5 separate regions of the Homo sapiens genome follow, and all the other regions are linked to region 3. Evidence: promoter capture Hi-C in 16 types of primary human blood cells and fetal thymus (Javierre and others, 2016). All regions are on one chromosome and are shown on one strand. Each heading gives the region's core, a stretch centred on a gene start or on the middle of the fragment in contact. The rest is flanking DNA. Distances are from core to core; before and after follow the strand shown.

Region 1 (3,871 bases), core at 406-2,905, 740 kb after region 3:
ACCTTGGCCTCCCAAAGCGCTGAGATTACAGGCCTGAGCCACTGTGCCCGGCTTCTTTCAAAGTTTTTATCTTTGATTTTACAAAATTTGAATATGATATGATGAGATATTGACTTCTTTGTATTTATCCTGTTTGGTGTTCTGAGATTCCTGGATCTATGGCTTGGTGTCTGTCAATAATTTTGGTGAGTTATCAGCCATTATTAGTTAAAATATTTCTTCTGCTTCTTTCATTTTTCTCCTTTTAGAATTCCCTTTACGAAGATGTTATACCTTTTGTAATTGTCCCGCCATTTTTTGATATTTTTTTCTGTTTTCCTCAGTCTTTTTTTCTCTTGCTTTTCAGTTTGGGAAGTTCTATTGACATTTTCTCAGGTTCACGGATTTCTTCATCAACCACGTGCAGTCCACTGACGGGTCCATCAAAGGCCTTCTCCGTTTCTGTTACGGCATTTTTTATTTCTAGCATTCCCTTTTGATTCTTAGAGTTTTCACTTCTCTACTTACATCCCATTGGTTCTTGAATCTCATCCACTTTTTCCATTAGAGCCTTTAGCATATTAATCATAGTTATCAGTCTGATAATCATCAAATCTCTGTATATTGCAGTCTGGCTCTGATGCATGCTCTGTCTCTTCATACTGTGGTTTTTGCCCTTTAATATGCTTTGAACATTTTAGGATGAAGATGAGAGAGTTGTTATGTTTCAAAGAAAATAGGTACTGGTTGGGCGCGGTGGCTGACGCCTATAATCCCAGCACTTTGGGAGGCCGAGGTAGGTGGATCACCTGAGGTCAGGAGTTTGAGACCAGCCTGGCCGACACAGTGAAACCCCTTCTCTACTAAATATACAAAAAATTAGCTGGGCGTGGTGGCATGCACCTGTAATCTGAGCTACTTAGGAGGCTGAGGCAGGAGAATGGCTTGAACCCGGGAGATGGAGGTTGCAGTGAGCCGAAGTGGTGCCATTGCACTCCAGCCTGGGCAACAAGAGCCAAACTCCGTTTGGAAAAAAGAGTCTTCTCGTTATTTATCAGTTTGGGACAGGTGCTGAGGAGCGGCCAAGCACTGAAAGAATTTTACTGGCTGTCCCAAGTGGTGTCCCCGAGCTCTCAAAATCTACGAGCTGTCCGAAAGCATTTGGGCTTTCTAAGTGGGTTTCACATAATGACTATGATAAACCTGTGGTATTTATGCACTAATACCTGTGCTGGGCTATGTGCCCACTGACACCAGCATATATTGTGGATAGTGTGTAGGAACTCTATAGGCTCAGATAATTCCAGACGTGTCAATACATACAGATGATGGAACTCTTTTGCACAGTGACTGGTGGTCCCACAGCTGAGTGATGATGGTGCATCCGTTGCTCAGAGCCTCGGCGCTGGAGCCACATGCTTGGGTTCCCATCTTGGCTCTTTTACTTAGGAGCTCATAAACTTGATCACATTCATCTCTGTCTCTTTTTCTCCAACCGGTGAAAGGTGAGAGTAAGCCACGCCATACGTATGTGGTGACTTCTGAATTGTTCAATGTGTATAATGTTATCAGTGCAAATGCTCATGAAGCTTAATTATCAGTGAAATGCCTTGCTTTAGATTGCACGACTTAACAAGCTCAAAGATTCATGCAAGCCCGGGATTCCGAACTCCCAAGCCATTGTTCTTTCTATGACATCTTCCTGCTTGGTCTACAACCAACCACTTTATCCAAATTCATACTCAATTTTGAAATACTCAGATAAAGCTTTCAAAAATGCTGTCTGTGTCTGGCTGAGTGCACACTCAATGGCCACTCCACATAAAAGGGCACATTAGGAGGCCTGGCACGGTGGCTTATGCCTGTAATCCCAGCACTTTGGGATGCCAAGGCAGGTGGATCACCTGAGGTCAAGAGTTCGAGACCAGCCTGGTTAATATGGGGAAACCCTGTCACTACTAAAAATACAAAAAAAAATTTTTTAAAGGGCACTATGGTCCTCCAGAGTGGTCCAGTTGCTTGAGTCATGGTCAACAGATGAGCTGTGCGAATGAGATGAATACCAGTGTCCTGGGTGGAGCCGCTTATCTACTGACAAGTCTGCTGTGCTAAAAGTGGTGAAAAATATCATCTTGCCTTATTTATTCCTAGCAAATGTAAGTGCCTCTAACCTTAGATTGCTTCCGAGTCATGGAACCAACAGTATCTTAGCATCAACTCCGGGTGATGGGTTAGGGGAACAAGTCACACAATATATCAAAACAATATAAACAGTTTTTCAGAGCTGCAGCTCTATATGCAAACTTGTACAATTATCACCTTATTATTTTTAAATTTATCTTTATATATATATCCATATGACTTACTTGTTTCTTGGTGTGAATAAATCTGTATATTCTTGGTTAATAGTGTCTACCGATTCATTTCATGTCCCTATCTTTATTCAATATGGGCTACTCTTTGGATGAGAAAAAAATGATTGTACTTGAGTATATTTACCTTTGGAAAGGTAAGTAGGTTGGGTGATTGACTGTAGTTGATACCTCTATGATTCTGCATAAACTCATTTATAAAATAAACTCAAATCATAAAATAAATAATAAAAAATAAAAGTGGATCTTGTTTTACACACGAACACATAGACAATACACATTCTTATTATCTCTTTTTTAAAAAGTTGATTTATGGATATAAATGACATATCCCAAGTTTACTAAACTAAATAAACATTTCATCAAGAGGAAATACATATTAAAAGCAAAGATAGGTAAACTTGATTGCGTGAAAAGCCACAAAGACATCTGCATCTTTCTAGGTTTGCTCCAAATTTTTGAAATTAATTATTTTAGTAGCTACTTAATTAGGTAAAAAAACTGCATTACAACAAACTTTGCCATATTTTCCCCAGGAGTATACCTAATTGGGCAGTTTGAGGGGTACAGGATGTAATAGGAAATAGCACATGTTCTTTAAAGGAAAAATTCAAAGGGAACCTGCTTGACGCTAGAATCAAATATATAAATTAAGGAATAAAATAGATCCCCAAAACACATTTATAACCGCATACGAAAAATACAGAGGATAATTTTTAAATACATTTAAGAGGACAGCATTCAACAGGCCAGTGTGAACATACCTCTAATGCAGGAACTCAGGTTTCCCATAAGAAATACCAAAATCTGGCCGGCACGGTGCAGAGTGAGACTCTGTCTCCACCACGCCCGGCCAGAGGTTCCATTCTTGAAATTCCATCACCAGATATTTCTATCATTCCTAAGTGATCTAATATTTCTAGAAGCAATAAGCAAACTGTTCAGAATTAGATAAAAGACAGCATAAATAGATATTCAGTTATAAAAATCATATTTCTCTAAAAGTTATATTTCTAAAAGTCATATTTCCCTAAAAAGTCATATTTCTACCATTCCTGAGAGATCTAATATTTCTAGAACCTATAAACAAACTGTTTGGAATTAGATAAAAGATAGCATTAGTTGATATTAAATAAAAATCGTATTTTTTTTACTTTTTAAAATATATTTTTTATTAAAAATAAAAAATAGTATTTAATATTTTAATTAAATAAAAATCATATTTCTCTAACAATATAATTATCAAAGTTAATTTTTCCACTTATCTCTATATATTACTATGCATTTAGTTATCTCCCAATCTTTGTGAATTCATAGACGAATTTATCTATCATTGTGTATGTAAACGGCTGGCTATTCACTGAGTCTTTAGGGGAAAAAAGTCACTATGTTTTCACCAGTGCATCTCCTGAGGGGGTGAACAGTTTGGGGGAATACATATATTTTTCTTTTTTTGAGACAGGGTCTTGCTCTGTCACCCAGGCTTGAGTGCGGTTGTGTGATCACGGCTCACTGCAGCC
Region 2 (3,653 bases), core at 1,154-3,653, 790 kb after region 3:
GCCAAGCTGGACGGAACAAACCACATGAGGTTGGTCAGGCCTCTACCCCATGGAAAAACACAGAATGGTGATTTTTTGCCTGTACATTCCTGGACAAATAAATTCTCTTTTGGGAGCTTTTTCCTGGCTGGGCTATGTTATATGCCTCAGAGCTGCCCAGATCCCCTGGAAACCCAAAGATTTCCTTCCATGTGTAGGACTCATTCAGCCCCAGCTCAGAGGACTGTTTCATGGGTACTGGTGGCAGGAATTCTTGGTTGTCTTCAATGTCTGGCTCCCTGATTTTCGGTAGGGAACATGGTCAGCAGAATGAGGATGGCATTTCCTACCTTCTACTGCAGGTAGGTGTGACCATGTGACTACGCTCTGGCCAATGACCTGCAAGTGGCAGTGACAGATCCCATCCTTCAAGGGAGGAACATGCCTTCTCTTTCTCCTTTCCTCTTTCTTCCAGGCTTTTAATTTTTTATTGATTTATTGATTTTGAAAAATGGAGTCTTGCTCTGTCACCCAGGCTGGAGTGTAGTAGTGCAATCTCCGCTCATTGCAACCTCCACCTCCTGGGTTCAAGCAATTCTCCTGCTTCAGCTTCCCAAATAGCTGGGATTATAGGCACGTGCCACCACGCCCAGCTAATTTTTTGTATTTTTAGTAAAGATGAGGTTTCACCATGTTGGCCAGGCTGGTCTCGAACTCCTGACCTCAGGTGATCCACCTGCCTCAGCCTCCTAAAGTGCTTCCAGCCTTTTTAGAATTCAGTTCTGGTGGGAACCATTTTGGATCATGCTGATGAAGGTAACACCATAGAGATGGCAGAGCTGGGGTTGGGTCTGGTGACTCACGCTTGTAATCTTACCACTCTGGGAGGCCGAGGTGGGAGGATTGCTTGAGCCCAGGAGTTTGAGACCAGCCTGGGCAACATAGTGAAACCTCATCTCTACAAATAAACTCTTGGCTAAAGCAATCCTCCCACCTCAGGCTCCCAAGTAGCTAGGCTACAAGCACACACCACCATGCCTAATTAAAAAAAATTTTTTTTTGTAGAGACAGGGTCTCGCTATGTTGCCCAGGCTGGTCTTGAACTCTTGGCCTCAAGTGATCCTCCTGCCTTGGCCTCCCAAATTGCTGGGATTACAGGCATGAGCCGCTACACATGGCTCATATTCTCAATAGAGCAGTCCCAATTGGCCACTGACCAGCCAATAGTCTTGCTCTCCTGGGCAGATGTTCACCCTGGTCCAATAAGCCACAGCTATGGATATGAAGGTCTGTGATCTCAAATTGAGCTAGAGGGGGAAGATGGGCATGGCAGAAAAATCTATCAATCTCTGCTACAATTAAATATCTGAGGTCAGACATGGTGGTTCACGCCTAGAAACCTAGCACTTTGGGAGGCTGAGGTGGGTGGATCACGAGGTCAGGAGTTCAAGACCAGCCTGAACAAGATGGTGAAACCCTGTCTCTACTAAAAATACAAAAATTAGCTGGGCATGGTGGCAGGCACCTGTAATCCCAGCTACTCGGGAGGCTGAGGCAGAGAATTGCTTGAACCCAGGAGATGGAGGTTGCAGTGAGCCGAAATCGTGCCATTGCACTCCAGCCTGAGCGACAGAGCGAGATTCTGTCTCAAAAAAAAAAAAAATTGAATATTGGATTATTGAAACTTGGCATAGAGCAGCCACTGTCCTTGTCTTCTAAGAGCTTATATCATATTATTATTTTATTATTATTAATAACATATCATTATTAATTAATAGCTGCAGTTCACTGAACAGTATTAGATACCAGGCATGGTGCTTGTAATTAGTCATCTCATTGAATTCCCTTAATGAAAATTAGGTAGTCAGAGACCTTTCTTCATGGATCGCAACCCCAGGGGCATGTGGGATTTCAGAGATGTGTTTTGGGGAAAGAGGTATAATTATTCAACTTTCAGTTAATTAGCCACTTAGAGAAATTAAGTGGTAGGTGGAGTTGTAAAGGAAGGCAAAGTACTGGGCAGGCAGATGCTAAGTGGGCGACTGTTCTAGGCATAAGAGAAATGGGGGTGGGTATGAAAAAAAGCAAGAGAAAGAGAGAGAGAGAGAGAGAGACAAGGGAAATTTGGTTTGACTGGATAAAAAGGCCAGTGAAAAGAGGGAGTTTTGGTAAGAGCTATGCCATGGGCAGGGAGAAGTACAGAGATCTTCAATCATGGACTCTATCGCCATCCCCTCTTCTCTTCCTGCAGGTGGGCAGAACCAAGGTGCCCTCCCTACACCTTCCTGGGGCCTCCAGCGATCCTGAGCTCAGCCTCCTGACCTGCAGACCCCTCAGCTCTGGCCCTCACGTCCTGCTTGCTGTACCTGCTTTATCCCATATCACCATCTCCATTCCTCAGCATAGTGACAATCCCAGTTCCTACCCATTCCACTGGCTTCTCCATTTGGCTTGGAGCTCTTTAGCTGGATTGAGACGACTACTCTGATGAGTGCCATGTCACTGGCTCAACAAAATGGGCCCAAGTGAGTCAATGTCATTGACATGAAGGTGCTGTCAGTTTGGTGGGAACCAAGGGAATGAGACTGTGTTTTAGCTGCGTTCGTTTGAACAGTTACACACTTAGGGCTTCTTATGCGGATGCTCAGAGAGAAATATGGAAGACGAGATCTCGTAGAAAACAAGAAGACATGTTGTAAATGAGTCAGGCCTCCTGGAGTCCAGGACTAGGGAGGAACTCTTTATTGAGGATCACTCGAGGGAGTCTTGGGGCTGGTGGTCTTCACGCCACAGCCCCATAACTCAGCTCCTCTCTTCCTTCTCTCAGTCTCTCTGCTTCTGTTTTTTGTCTCATGTCCTAAATGTCCAACTATTCAGCATAACTTTATTCTGCTTCCCCTCTCTATCCTCTGTAGCAAAATGCACTGTTGGAATTACATTTTTATTTTTATTTTTATTTTTATTTTTTTAAGACGGAGTCTCACTCATTGCCTAGGCTGGAATGCAGCGGTGTGATCTCGGCTCACTGCAACCTCCACCTCCAAGGTTCAAGTGATCCCCTTGCCTCAGCCTCCTGAGTAGCTGGAACTACAGATGCCTAACACCATGCCCAGTTAATTTTTATATTTTTAGTAGAGATGGGATTTCACCATGTTGGCCAAGGTGGTCTCGAACCCCTGACCTCAGATGATCTGTCTGCCTTGGCCTCCCAAAATGCTGGGATTACAGGCATGAGCCAATGTGCCCAGCTGGAATTAAATTAATAATTTTTATTTCTGCTTTAGCGAGAGAGGCGGTGACTCACTGATACAAGGAAGATATTTCCCCTTCCAAGGGTGATGTATTCAGCTTTTGGGTTTAAAAGGAGATGCTATCAGGCACGCGTGGCTATCCTGGCAGATTACATAAAAATACAGAAGAAATGTTCTTTGTGTTAAAAGAATAAAAAAGAAAAAACAAAACGTGTTTCCTCAAAAACTTAAATACAGAATTACCACATGACCCAGCAATTCTACTACTGGCTATATCCCCCCAAAGAATTGAAGGCAGGAACATGAATAGGAATTTGTAGAACCATGTTTATACCAGCATTATCCACAGTAGCCAAAAAGTGGAAAGAAACTAAATGTTCATCTACGGATTAACAGACAAACAAAATGTGGAATATCTGTACA
Region 3 (3,820 bases), core at 683-3,182:
GGCGGATCACTTACTTGTCCAGTTCATCCACGGGGGTGCCTGAGCCCCCCAAGCCACAGTAGCAGCCGTAGTTGTTGTATTCCAAGAAGGGGTCACTCCCCGGGATCACGCACTTGATCATTTTGCGGAACTGCCACACGGCCCGAGGGCTGATGCCGCTGTCGGCGGCGGCCACTGCAAGAAGACATAGCCAGAGTTCAAATCGGTCTGCCAGCACCCCGGGGACACACTGCCTTCCTGCTCCCTCGGGTCCCACGCTGCCTCCCTGACCCCTGCCAGCTGCCTCCTCTGAAGACCGTTGGACCCAGGAACCTGGTAAAGTGAAAGTGGGTAGAGGTTTTTTTTTTTTTTTAATGAAAACTTTATATATATAAAGTTTATATCTTTGTGTGTGTGTATATATATATATATCTTCTTCTTTTTCTTCTTCTTCTTCTTCTGGGACCCTACCGCCTCAGCTAGGATTACAGGCATGTGCCACCCAGCTAGGCCTGATAGTTTTTTTTTTTTTTTTGAGATGGAGTCTTGCTCTGTTGCCCAGGTTGGAGTGCAGTGACACGATTTCAGCTCACTGCAAACTCTGCTTCCCGGGTTCACGCCATTCTCCTGCCTCAGCCTCCCTAGGTCAGATAGTTTTAAACTATCTGCACTGTTTATCCAGTGAATATTTATTGAGCACTTACTATGTGCCAGGCTCTGTCCTAGGAGCTAGAGATACAGCAGTGAACAGATATAATAATAATAATAATAATAATAATAATAATAATAATAATAATAATCTCTAACCTCATGGAGCTTACAACCTAGTGGGAGAGAAAAACAATAAATAATAAATGTGATAAGGCCGGGCACGGTGGCTCATGCCTGTAATCCCAGCACTTTGGGAGGCCGAGGCAGGCGGATCACAAGGTCATGAGATCGAGACCATCCTGGCTAACACGATGAAACCCCGTCTTTATTAAAAATACAAAAAAATTAGCGGGGCGTGGTGGCAGGCGCCTTTAGTCCCAGCTACTGGGGAGGCTGAGGCGGGAGAATGGCGTGAACCCAGCAGGTGGAGCTTGCAGTGAGCCGAGATCGCACCACTGTACTCCAGCCTTGGCGACAAAGCAAGACTCTGTCTCAATAATAATAAGAATAATAATAAATGTGATAAGTAAGGAAACTGGATACTGCATTAGAAAGGGGAAGAATAGAGCAGGATGAGGAGAATCTAAAAGGGAGGTCACCCAGCCTGGCCAACATGGTGAAAACCTGTCTCTACCAAAAAAAACACACAAAAAATTAGCTGGGCATGGTGGTGTGTGCCAGCTACTTGAGAGCTACAAGTCCCAGCTACTTGAGAGGCTGAGGCAAGAGAATTATTTGAACCCAGGAGATGGAGGTTGTAGTGATCTGAGATCACGCCACCGCACTCCAGCCTGGGCGACAGAGTGAGCCCCGTCTCAAAAATAAAATAAAGTAAAATAAAAATAAAAATTAAAATAAAATAAAATAAATGGGAGATTGGCCTAACTACTTAGTTGAGTAAGGTGGGAGGATCACTTGAGCCCACGAGTTGGAAGCTGTGGTGAGCTATGATCATGCCACTGAACTCCAGCCTGGGTGATAGAGCAAGACCCTGTCTGGAAAAAAGAAAATAAAGGCAAGCTTTCTTAGCTCAGGCAATCTGAGTTCAGACTTGCAGGTTGAAAAAGTGCCAGCCTTGAGGGAACCCCAATAGAGGAGCCCTTAAGCCCCACTGGGAACCTCGAATTGAGACTGCGGGGCTGGCCATCCCTGTTTGCTGTGGCCTGTGGCCCCCATTCCAGAGGAGTGAGATCTTAGCTCACTTGGGAGAGAAAGGCGGGTGGAGCCGGGGAGACTTGCCTACCTGTGAGCAGCACAGCTAGCACAAGGAGTTTCATCTTGCAGTCAAGGTGAGAAAAGAACTGAGATGACCAGTCTCAGGTATAGTCTTATAGTCAGTCTCCACACAACCCTGCCCAGATAAGGCTGGAGTGTTTGCTTTGCTCTTGGCTGAGTTTGGGGCTGGCCTTGAATCTGTCTGTTGCAGGAATGACCCTGACGATTTGCCAGCATGGGATCACTGGAAAATATGTTATGCATTTGTCCTTAGCAACTGTTAACCAAAGGGATGGTTTCTGGAGTTTTCAGATCTTACAATCTTGACCCTCATACCCACCACTTTGTACTCAGCCCAGCTTCACGGGCTGGTTGGGGAAAGCAAAGCCGTCAGTTCAGTCGGACGCTGGGATAAGGGAGACAAGAAGGAAGTGCAGCCTGGGCAACATAGAGAGACCTCATCTCTAAAAAAAAAAATGTTAACCAGGTGTGGTGGTGGATTGCACCTGTGATCCCAGCAACTCAGGAGGCTGAGATGGGAGGATCTCTTGAGCCAGGGAGGTCAAGGCTGCAATGAACAGTGATTGAGCCTCTGCAGCAGAGTGAGACCCTATTTCAAAAAAAAAAAAAAAAAAAGAAAGAAAGAAAAAAGATCGCTGCCTGCAGCCTCAATGTCTTATCAAGTGCCTGAATCTGTGCACTGGGTCTGGTTGAATAGTCCCATCAGTCGTGCACCTTGCAGATAAAGAGACAGGTTCAGAGAGTTGCGGTAACTTGCCCAAGGTCACACAGTTGGCAAATGACAAAATAGGGCTCCAGTTTAGATCTGTCTGATTCCAAGGCAGAGGTTTTATTTTTTTCCACCACTCCGCTCTGCAGTGTGGGTTTGTGAGAAAAACCTGGGCTTTGGATTCCAAAGGCCTGAGTCTGAATTATAGAATACTAAAGGGCATTAGAACTGTCATATCAGAGGCCAGGCACGGTGGCTCATGCCTGTAATCCCAGCACTTTGGGAGGCTGAGGCTGGCAGATCACCTGAGGTGGAGAGTTCGAGACCAGCCTGACCAACATGGAATAACCCTGTCTCTACTAAAAACACAAAATTAGCCAGGCATGGTGGCTTATGCCTGTAATCCCAGCTACTCCGGAGGCCGAGGCAGGAGAATGGCTTGAACCCTGGAGGCGGAGGTTGCGGTGAGCTGAGATCACGCCATTGCACTCCAGCCTAGGGAACAAGAGCAAAACTCCATCTCAAAAAAAAACCTGTCACATCACATATCTATTTATTTATATATATTTTTTGAGACGGAGTCTTGCTCTGTTGCCTAGGCTGGAGTGCAATGGCGCGATCTTGGCTCACTGCAAGCTCTGCCTCCCAGGTTCATGCCATTCTCCTGCCTCAGCCTCCCAAGTAGCTGGGACTACAGGCACCCACCACCACGCCCGGTTAATTTTTTTTTTTGTATTTTTAGTAGAGATGGGGTTTCACCGCATTAGCCAGGATGGTCTCGATCTCCTGACCTCGTGATCCACCTGCCTCGGCCTCCCAAAATGCTGGGATTACAGGCGTGAGCCACCGCGCCCGGCCAAATATCTACATAACATTGTTTAGCTGAAATTCACATAACATTAACCACGTTTAAGTAAACAATTCGGGGGCATTTAGTACCTTCACAGTGTTGTGCAACCATCACCTCTATGGGGTTCCAGAACATTTTTATCACTCCAGAAGGAAACCCTGTACCCATTAGCAGTCACACTCCCTCAGCCCCTGGTAACTGCTAATCTGCTTCTCTCTCTCTCTCTCTTTTTTTTTTGAGACAGAGTTTCGCTCTTGTCGCCCAGGCTGGAGTGCAATGGCACGATCTCGGCTTACTGCAACCTCCGCCTCCCAGGTTCAAGCGATTCTCCTGCCTCAGCCTCTCGTGTAGCTGGGAATTACAGGCGCCTGCCAGCATGCCTGGATAATTTTTGT
Region 4 (3,378 bases), core at 879-3,378, 680 kb after region 3:
CTTGCAGAATGCCTTTGTCCCATGAAACCTAGTCCACGAGTGCTATGACACTTCCTGAAGTCTTGGGTGGGGTGAACGCACAAATCCTGGGGGTGTAGAGAGGAGGAGGATGTTTACTTAAAATGTCTTAAGGTTCAGCATTGACAGAGAGGCAATATCCAAATCACTCTAAGTTTTGTTTTGGGTCCTCTGACAATTGAGTTTCCATAATCTGGTCGGCTCAGAGACACCATCATGTGTGGTATATTCACAAATGCAGACAAAGAAAATTCTAGAAAGCCAGGGGTGAAAAAGCTCTCCTTTCTCAGACGATTCTGTGAAGTCTATGTGGGCTAAGGAGAGAAGAACAAAAGTTTCTCTGGGCCTTGGCCTCTTGGGGATCCCTTCTCTCATTTTCTAAAAACTGTTTCTCACACCAGGCTAAGGAGGTGGTGGGGAAGGTCTCCCTTCCCCTGCCCACCTCAGACAGTTCTAGGGAGATGGAGGTTTCACCACTTGGCCACTAGTCTCAAATAACTGGAAGGTTCCTTTTTTCCTGAGGTCATGAAATGTTCTGGAACCACAGCGCCCCCGCCAGCCCTCCGTGGGAGCACAGAGGGGCAGGCCTTGATTGGTCTTCTCACCCTACAGCCACTTTTTTGGCCCAACTCTCGAGCAAGCCTTCATCACCATCAGGGTCTCATGGGCAGTCTGGGTTTGCCAGCCCAGTCCTTGAACTTGGAGAGGGAGGTGGGGCTTGGAAATGCCTTGTCCCCAGGGTGGGGGGGACACCTTGTCCTTGGAGCTGGCTGAGCCCTGTGCCCATGGCTGGGTTCAGTTTGCAGGTATAGCTGTAGCACTCTTTGCTGGTGGGAATGGAGAGGTCTCGCTGGCCTTCTTTGCCTTTTTCTTCTTTTTGGTCCCAAGCGACACCTGGTCCCCGTTGAGCTCACCTGACTTCTGCTTCTGGACTGTGGCCATGCTGGTGGGGGTGGTGGCAGCGACAGCCGAGTCGACACTGGCCACCTTCTTGGCTTTCTTTTTCAACTTCCTTTTCTTCTTTGCCTCCTTCTCCACTGTTCCAGGGCTGTGGATGGCTGACTCCTGTAGGATGTCGGACGCCGACACAGCTGCCTCCCGGCACCGCCGCCACTCCTCGTCACTGTCCTCACTGCTGCAACGAGAGGGTACCCTGGGTTAGCTGGAGTCAGGACACAGCCCCAGAGCTGCCTCTCGCTGTCCTCCCTTGGTCCAGGTCACCAGAAGGTGGCCGCAGAGAGAGGCAGGTAGTGAGTTCAGGCTTGGGAGTGAGGCCAACCTGGCTTCCAATACTGGCTTCTGGGCGTAGCAGCCTTGTGACCTCCTTAAGTGACTTAACCTCTCTGACTGTATCATCTCTAAAACGGGGATCTTAACAGAGTCCAGGCCTCCCAGGGATGTCCCAGGAGGCAACTATGATCAAGTGAGGTGTCTGGCCCAAGACAGGTGCTCAAAAGCAGTAAACATCCAAAGCTGCCGCCAAGAGGGCTTTCCCTCCCGCTGAGCTCATGATTTCTCCAGCTGCCTGACAGGGCCACTGCCTTGGCCTGGTCCTGACTGGAGTCTGCTTGGCTATTCCAGGGAACCCACCAAGACAGAAGAGGAGAAAAAAGGAGGGGACGTGAGGAGAGGTGTGAGTTCTCACCTGGAGCTGGAGGGCTGTCGCTTTCGGCGGGGTTGGGGAGACTCTTCCTTCTCACGGCCTCCAGGGACAGATGTGAAGAAAAGGCGGAAACCTAAGATTCAATGGGGCAGAGTCAAACAAAAACAAAACAAAACAAAAAGAAACATAAAAAAATAAAAAATAAAGAAACAAAAAAGAAAAAAATTTTAAAAAGGAAAACGAAAGAAAGAAAAGATAAAGAGAAACAAAAAAAAAATTTTAAGAAGACACAAAATAAAAAAATTTAAAAAAGAAACAATAACAAAAAAACCCAACCAAGCAAACAAACAAAAAAAACAAAGGAGCAGAGTCAGCACCCCCAGATGCCAGCCCCTCCTCCCAGGTGCCAGGTGCTGAAGCTGCCCCGCCTCTGCCCTCAGGAGCTCCTGGTCCAGAGGCAAAGACCCAGGAATCAGTCGTCTAACTACAAAGTGATTCTGCATCTGCCAAGGGTCATGCTGATGCCTGATGGAGCCAGTGGAGGGCGCGCTGGAGCAGGAGCCAGCAGCCACATCAGCTCAGCAAGCCCTCAGAGGCTTCTGGAAGTCAGCACTTGAGCTCCTGACCTAAGGCAGCCTTCAAAGTGGCAAATGTGTTGGTACAGGACAGACGCAGATGGGCGAGGCTGTGGAGGGCAGCAGTAAAGTGCTCCTGCTCAGGGTGACACAGACGAGGCCGCCTCAGGCAAATGACTTCGTTTCTCAGGGCCTCAGTCTCCTTGTCTGTACATGGGGTTCAATCATAATACCTGCCTCACCACAGGGGCTGAGCAGATGAAAGAATGGTGAGGTGGCCCATGCCTGTAACCCCAGTACTTTGGTAGTCTGAGGCGGGAGGATAGCTTGAGGCCAGGAGTTTAAGACCAGCCTGGGCAACATGACAGAACCCTGTCTCTAAAAAAAAATACAAAAATTAGCCAGGTGTGGTGGTGCACGCCTGTAGTCCCAGAACTTTGGAAGGCTAAGGTGGGCAGATGGCTTGAGGCCAGGAGTTCAAGACCAGCCTGGGCAACATAGCGAGATCCTGTCTCTAAAAAACATAAATAATTAGCCAGGGGTGGTGGTGTGTGTCTGTGGTCCCAGCTACTCAGGAAGCTGAGGTGGGAGGACTGCTTGGGTCCGGGAGGTTGAGGCTGCATTGAGCTATAATTGCTCCACTGCACTCCAGCCTAGGTGGCAGAGAGAGTTCCTATCTCAAAAAAAGAAAAAAAAAAAAGAATATACCAAAACTGTTTCGCCCACCTCCAGACACACATTAGGTGCTTAATAAATGATAGCTTCTATTAAGTATAACCACTCACCATCATCCTCCAAAGCGACTTTCTGTACCTTAGCTTTTGCTGGCTCCTTTGCTGCTTCTGAGATGGTAATGAAGCTACAGGGAGACGAGACGGTTGATTTAAGATGAGATTTTTGGATAACGACAAAAACAAAATTCTTTTTCAAGTGGAGGGGATGGGGTATGTGATTGTAAATGCAAAAGCGAAAGCGTGCTGGCCTAGTAAGAGGGCTGATGGTCTGGTTATAACATGCTGACCAGCCTCTGCCACGCGAACTGCAGTGCTTCATTTCTTTAAAGCCCACTTTATTCCAGTAAGTGTTGAAGAAGTTTTAAAGACATAGTAAAACAAGATGAGGCCAGGCATGGTGGCTCACGCCTGTAATCCTAGCACTTTGGGAGGCCAAGGCAGGCAGATC
Region 5 (3,827 bases), core at 903-3,402, 640 kb after region 3:
AAGTTTAGTTTTAAAAAAGTGAGTTGACAGGAGCAAAACTGCTAAGTAAATAATGCAAAAGGCAGTGGTGCTCAAATATGGGAAAATAATATGCAGGTGATACCAGAGTCTTGCCTTTGGGAAATGCAGACCCAGGTCCTTTTGTCTTTAGAGCTCACCGGCAATGCGAGGTGTTTCAGGTAGAAGGAACAGCATCAATGGGGTGTTGGCTAGTGTTTAACAGCTGGCTCTCTGAAAAAGCAAAATAAAACACACACACACCAAATCTGATGGTCTGTTTCCATGATGTGAGTACCTCCAGCTGGGCCGAACTGACATCACTGAACACAGTGGAAAGTGATGACTGCAGTTGTCTCTCCTGGGAGCTTCAACACAGTACAGGCTGACAAAAGTGGGCAGGGGGTAAGGGCAGGTGGTGGGAGTGGCCTCTACGCCAGAGAAGGGAATGGAGAGGTCAGGCTGGCTAGAGAGTGGGGTTGAGTCGTCCATGCCCTTGAATGCCAGGATGAGGGCTAAAGAGTCAAATGGAATGGGTGACTTCATATGCAGAAGTTTTTACAAGAGAAGAGAACTCAGTTTGGCCAAGAGAAGTGGGGTCGTCATGTTGGTAATCACGTAACAGTGATCGTTCAGTCATGCGGAATGCTTTCAAGGTGTTGGACACTGTTCATTTTTTATTTTTAGTTTTTGAGGCAGGGTCTCACTCTGTCGCCCAGGCTGGAGTGCAGTGGTGCAATCTTGGCTCACTGCAACCTCTGTCTCCTGGGTTCAAGCGATTCTTCTGCCTCAGCCTCCCTAGTAGCTCGGATTACAGTTGTTTGCCACCACGCCCGGCTAATTTTTGTATTTTTAGTAGAAATGAGGTTTCGCCATGTTGGCCAGACTGGTCTCGAACTCCTGACCTCAAATGATCCACCTGCCTCGGCCTCCCAAAGTGCTGGGATTGCAGGTGTGATCCACCACACCTGGCCGCTTGCAGGGTGTTGGACACTGTGGATATCACCTCATTCATTCTCCTAACAACCCAAGAGAAGAGGAACTGAGGCAAAGAGAAGTTAAGCAAGTTGCCCAAGGCCATACGGCTAGTAAACGGCAGAACGAGGCTCAAACCCAGGCACTCTGGCTCTAGAGTGTGTGTTCCTAACCACTGTGCTCTAGCACCTCGGAACCTTAGTCTCTTCATCTGCAAAATCAGCACTGAGGTGACAAGGCCAACGAGCAGAGGGTTGGAGTTACCCAGAACAACAACAACAACAAAAGTAATAGTAACACATATTTGGTCAAGGCTTAGATTCTGGCGTCATGGGGATCTGGGTTCAAATCCTAATTCTGCCTTAGCCGATTAGGGTCCCTATCCTCTTAAAGCCTTGGTTTCCTTATCTGTAAAATGGGGATATCATGAAGCTGTTAGATGTTAAATGAGAAAATGAATGAGAAAATTGCATGTACTGTCCATAAAGTTGAAAAGATAATAGGGGTGGGAAGGAGAACAGTCCGAGTTTGAATGCAGGTGGGCCCTGGGGCATTGTCTGGACTGAAGGACAAGGGTCAGTTGAATTGCCAAAGAGCTCTGAGACTGGCTGAAGGGACACTCGTCTTGTGCTAGCTGCTAAGACCAAGGGGAAGCCTGTGCCTCGCCCGAATTTTAGTCTTGCAAACAGCTGCTCACCCAGTAGGAGAGAATTGTGATAAAACTCATAGCCACCATTTCTTGAATATCTACTATGCCCCGGGACACAGCAGACTATTTTAGAGAATTTGCGAAGGAAACACAGTGACATCTGTTGGACACCTTGCAAACTACCAGCTCAGGATAGTTAAATTTGAATGTTAGATGGAGGGAACTTCCTTTCCACAATGACATGATTTTGTAAAGCTGAGTGTATGGCAGTTGTCATGATTAAAAGCAAGTGCCATGCAGAAGTTATTGTGTAACAGGAAATGAGATTAGATAGCGTCCAATCTAATCTCAAGGTTTGAGTAGCTGTGGACAGCCCAACAGGCACAGGCCTCCCGTTAGTACATCCATACGAGAAGTTAAGAATGAGTGAAAATAGTTTTTTTTTTTTTAATTTATGTGCATTATTTTTTTCAAGCAGCTACCTTGTTAGGACATACTTAATAGTTATCTTGGCCTACCTACTGCACTTACTAAACAACTGTTCACTTTTTAATTTTTAATTTTCAGATTTTTTTGAGACGGATTGTTACTCTATCGCCCAGGCTGGAGTGCAGTGGCGTGATCTCTGCTCACTGCAACCTCCGCCTCCCGGGTTCAAGCTATTCTCCTGCCTCAGCCTCCTGAGTATCTGGGACTACAGGTGTGCGCCACCACATCCAGCTAATTTTTGTATTTTTAGTAGAGATGGGGTTTTACCATGTTGGCCAGGCTGATCTGGAACTCCTGACCTCAGGTGATCCACCTGCCTCGGTCTCCCAAAGCGCTGGGATTACAGGTATGAGCTACCATGTCCGGCTGTTCCTTTTTTTTTTTTTCTTTTTCTTTTTTTTTTGAGACGGAGTTTCTCTCTGTCACCCAGGCTGGAGTGCAGTGTCATGATCTCAGCTCACTGCAACCTCTGCCTTCTGGGTTCAAGTGATTCTCCTGCCTCAGCCTTCCGACTAGCTGGGATTATAGGTGCCCACTGACAAGCCTGGCTAATTTTTGTATTTTTAGTAGAGACGGGTTTTCACCATGTTGGCCAGGCTGGTCTCGAACTCCTGACCTCAAGTGATCCACCCACTTCGGTCTCCCAAAGTGCTGGGATGACAGGCATGAGCCACTGCGCCCAGCCACTGTTCGCTTTTTTTCTCAGTGGTTCTCTAGTCCATTGCCTTAACCACTCACCATGACTACAGCTCTTATTTGCAGTGACTCTCAAGAATGCAAATGCAAATGCCATTCCTGACCTCGAGTTAATTCAGCTTTGTCCCCTGAGCATGGGGGAAAGGCAGGCTGGGGGCTGGAACTTTCTGCTTGTGTACCTATCTCTTTAGACTCTGGAGGCTCCTCCCCAATCTCTGTCATTCCCTCTCCAACCAAATCCACCTGCCGTCCCAGACTCAAATGCTCAGCCACCTAACTGCCTGAGGACCCAGCAGTTAATGAGTTTACATGCTGGGGGCAGGAGTCAGGGCCAACACTCCTTGGTTCCTCTGGCTCCCTGGAAAGGGAAAGTCACCAAGAGGCAGCTGCAGGCAGCAAAGAGAATAAGCAGGAGAACCTCAAAGCCACAAAGGGACAGCACACAGCATCTTCCCTGTTTAGCCTGGACTTGAGAATGCTGTCCCCAGCAGTAAGCTGCTCAACCTCAAAGCAACTTGCACGGGGGTTTACAAAAAAATGCACTTGGCCGGGCACGGTGGCTCACGCCTATAATCCCAACAGTTTGGGAGGCCGAGGTGGGTGGATCTTTTGAGGCCAGGAGTTTGAGACCAGCCTGGCAAACATGGTGAAACCCTGTCTCTACCAAAAATACAAAAATTAGCCAGGCATGGTGGTGTGTGCCTGTAGTCCCAGCTACTCAGGAGGCTAAGGTAGGAGGATTGCTCGAACCCAGGAGGCAGAGGTTACAGTGAGCTGAGATCGCACCACTGTACTCCAGCCTGGGTGACAAAGTGAGGCTCTGTCTCAAAAATAAAAATAAAACATAAATGCACTGGAGGAAAGAGGGTACCACTCTCCTTAAGGCGGGGGCTGCCAACTTGTCCTGCACAGCCCGTCCGCCTGCCTCAGGTGGACTTAAAGCCCAGCTCTGAGGGACTCTGAGCAGTCATTTAACCTCTCTGAGCCTCTCTTTCCTCCCCTGCAGAAGGGGGATTATAAC

Evidence for each region. The method cuts DNA at HindIII sites, captures the fragments that hold promoters and counts their contacts. A CHiCAGO score of 5 or more calls a contact.
Region 1: a contact is called between a fragment that was not itself captured here and the fragment with the promoter of PLA2G1B in region 3, in 1 of 17 cell types (naive B cells). The highest score is 6.1, in naive B cells.
Region 2: a fragment that was not itself captured here is called in contact with the fragment with the promoter of PLA2G1B in region 3 in 1 of 17 cell types (naive B cells); the score reaches 5.8 in naive B cells.
Region 4: a contact is called between a fragment that was not itself captured here and the fragment with the promoter of PLA2G1B in region 3, in 1 of 17 cell types (naive B cells). The highest score is 5.0, in naive B cells.
Region 5: a contact is called between the fragment with the promoter of HNF1A-AS1 here and the fragment with the promoter of PLA2G1B in region 3, in 3 of 17 cell types (naive B cells, total B cells and erythroblasts). The highest score is 6.3, in naive B cells.

The regions. Positions count from the first base shown.
Region 1 is chr12:121,066,222-121,070,092 of GRCh38, forward strand. LOC105378258 (a long non-coding RNA gene) reads right to left here. Exons shown (of 4, transcript XR_007063492.1): 3 at 3,116-3,270. Among named protein-coding and RNA genes, the nearest start is that of OASL, 29 kb to the left of the region's middle. The HindIII fragment of the contact is 178 bases long and covers 1,567-1,744 here.
Region 2 is chr12:121,117,219-121,120,871 of GRCh38, forward strand. It overlaps LOC105370030 (a long non-coding RNA gene), which reads left to right. Exons shown (of 3, transcript XR_007063494.1): 3 at 2,231-2,488. Among named protein-coding and RNA genes, the nearest start is that of P2RX7, 14 kb to the right of the region's middle. The HindIII fragment of the contact is 9,656 bases long and covers 1-3,653 here.
Region 3 is chr12:120,325,847-120,329,666 of GRCh38, forward strand. It overlaps PLA2G1B (phospholipase A2 group IB), which reads right to left and starts at 1,933. Exons shown (of 4, transcript NM_000928.3): 1 at 1,874-1,933; 2 at 15-174. The coding sequence starts at 1,907. The HindIII fragment of the contact is 6,320 bases long and covers 1,649-3,820 here.
Region 4 is chr12:121,003,340-121,006,717 of GRCh38, forward strand. C12orf43 (chromosome 12 open reading frame 43) reads right to left here. Exons shown (of 6, transcript NM_022895.3): 4 at 2,982-3,055; 5 at 1,664-1,754; 6 at 1-1,150. The coding sequence ends at 814. Among named protein-coding and RNA genes, the nearest start is that of C12orf43, 11 kb to the right of the region's middle. The HindIII fragment of the contact is 4,279 bases long and covers 1-3,378 here.
Region 5 is chr12:120,970,140-120,973,966 of GRCh38, forward strand. HNF1A-AS1 (HNF1A antisense RNA 1) reads right to left here and starts at 2,153. Exons shown (of 1, transcript NR_024345.1): 1 at 1-2,153. RefSeq lists an enhancer at 2,746-3,273. The HindIII fragment of the contact is 11,110 bases long and covers 1-3,827 here.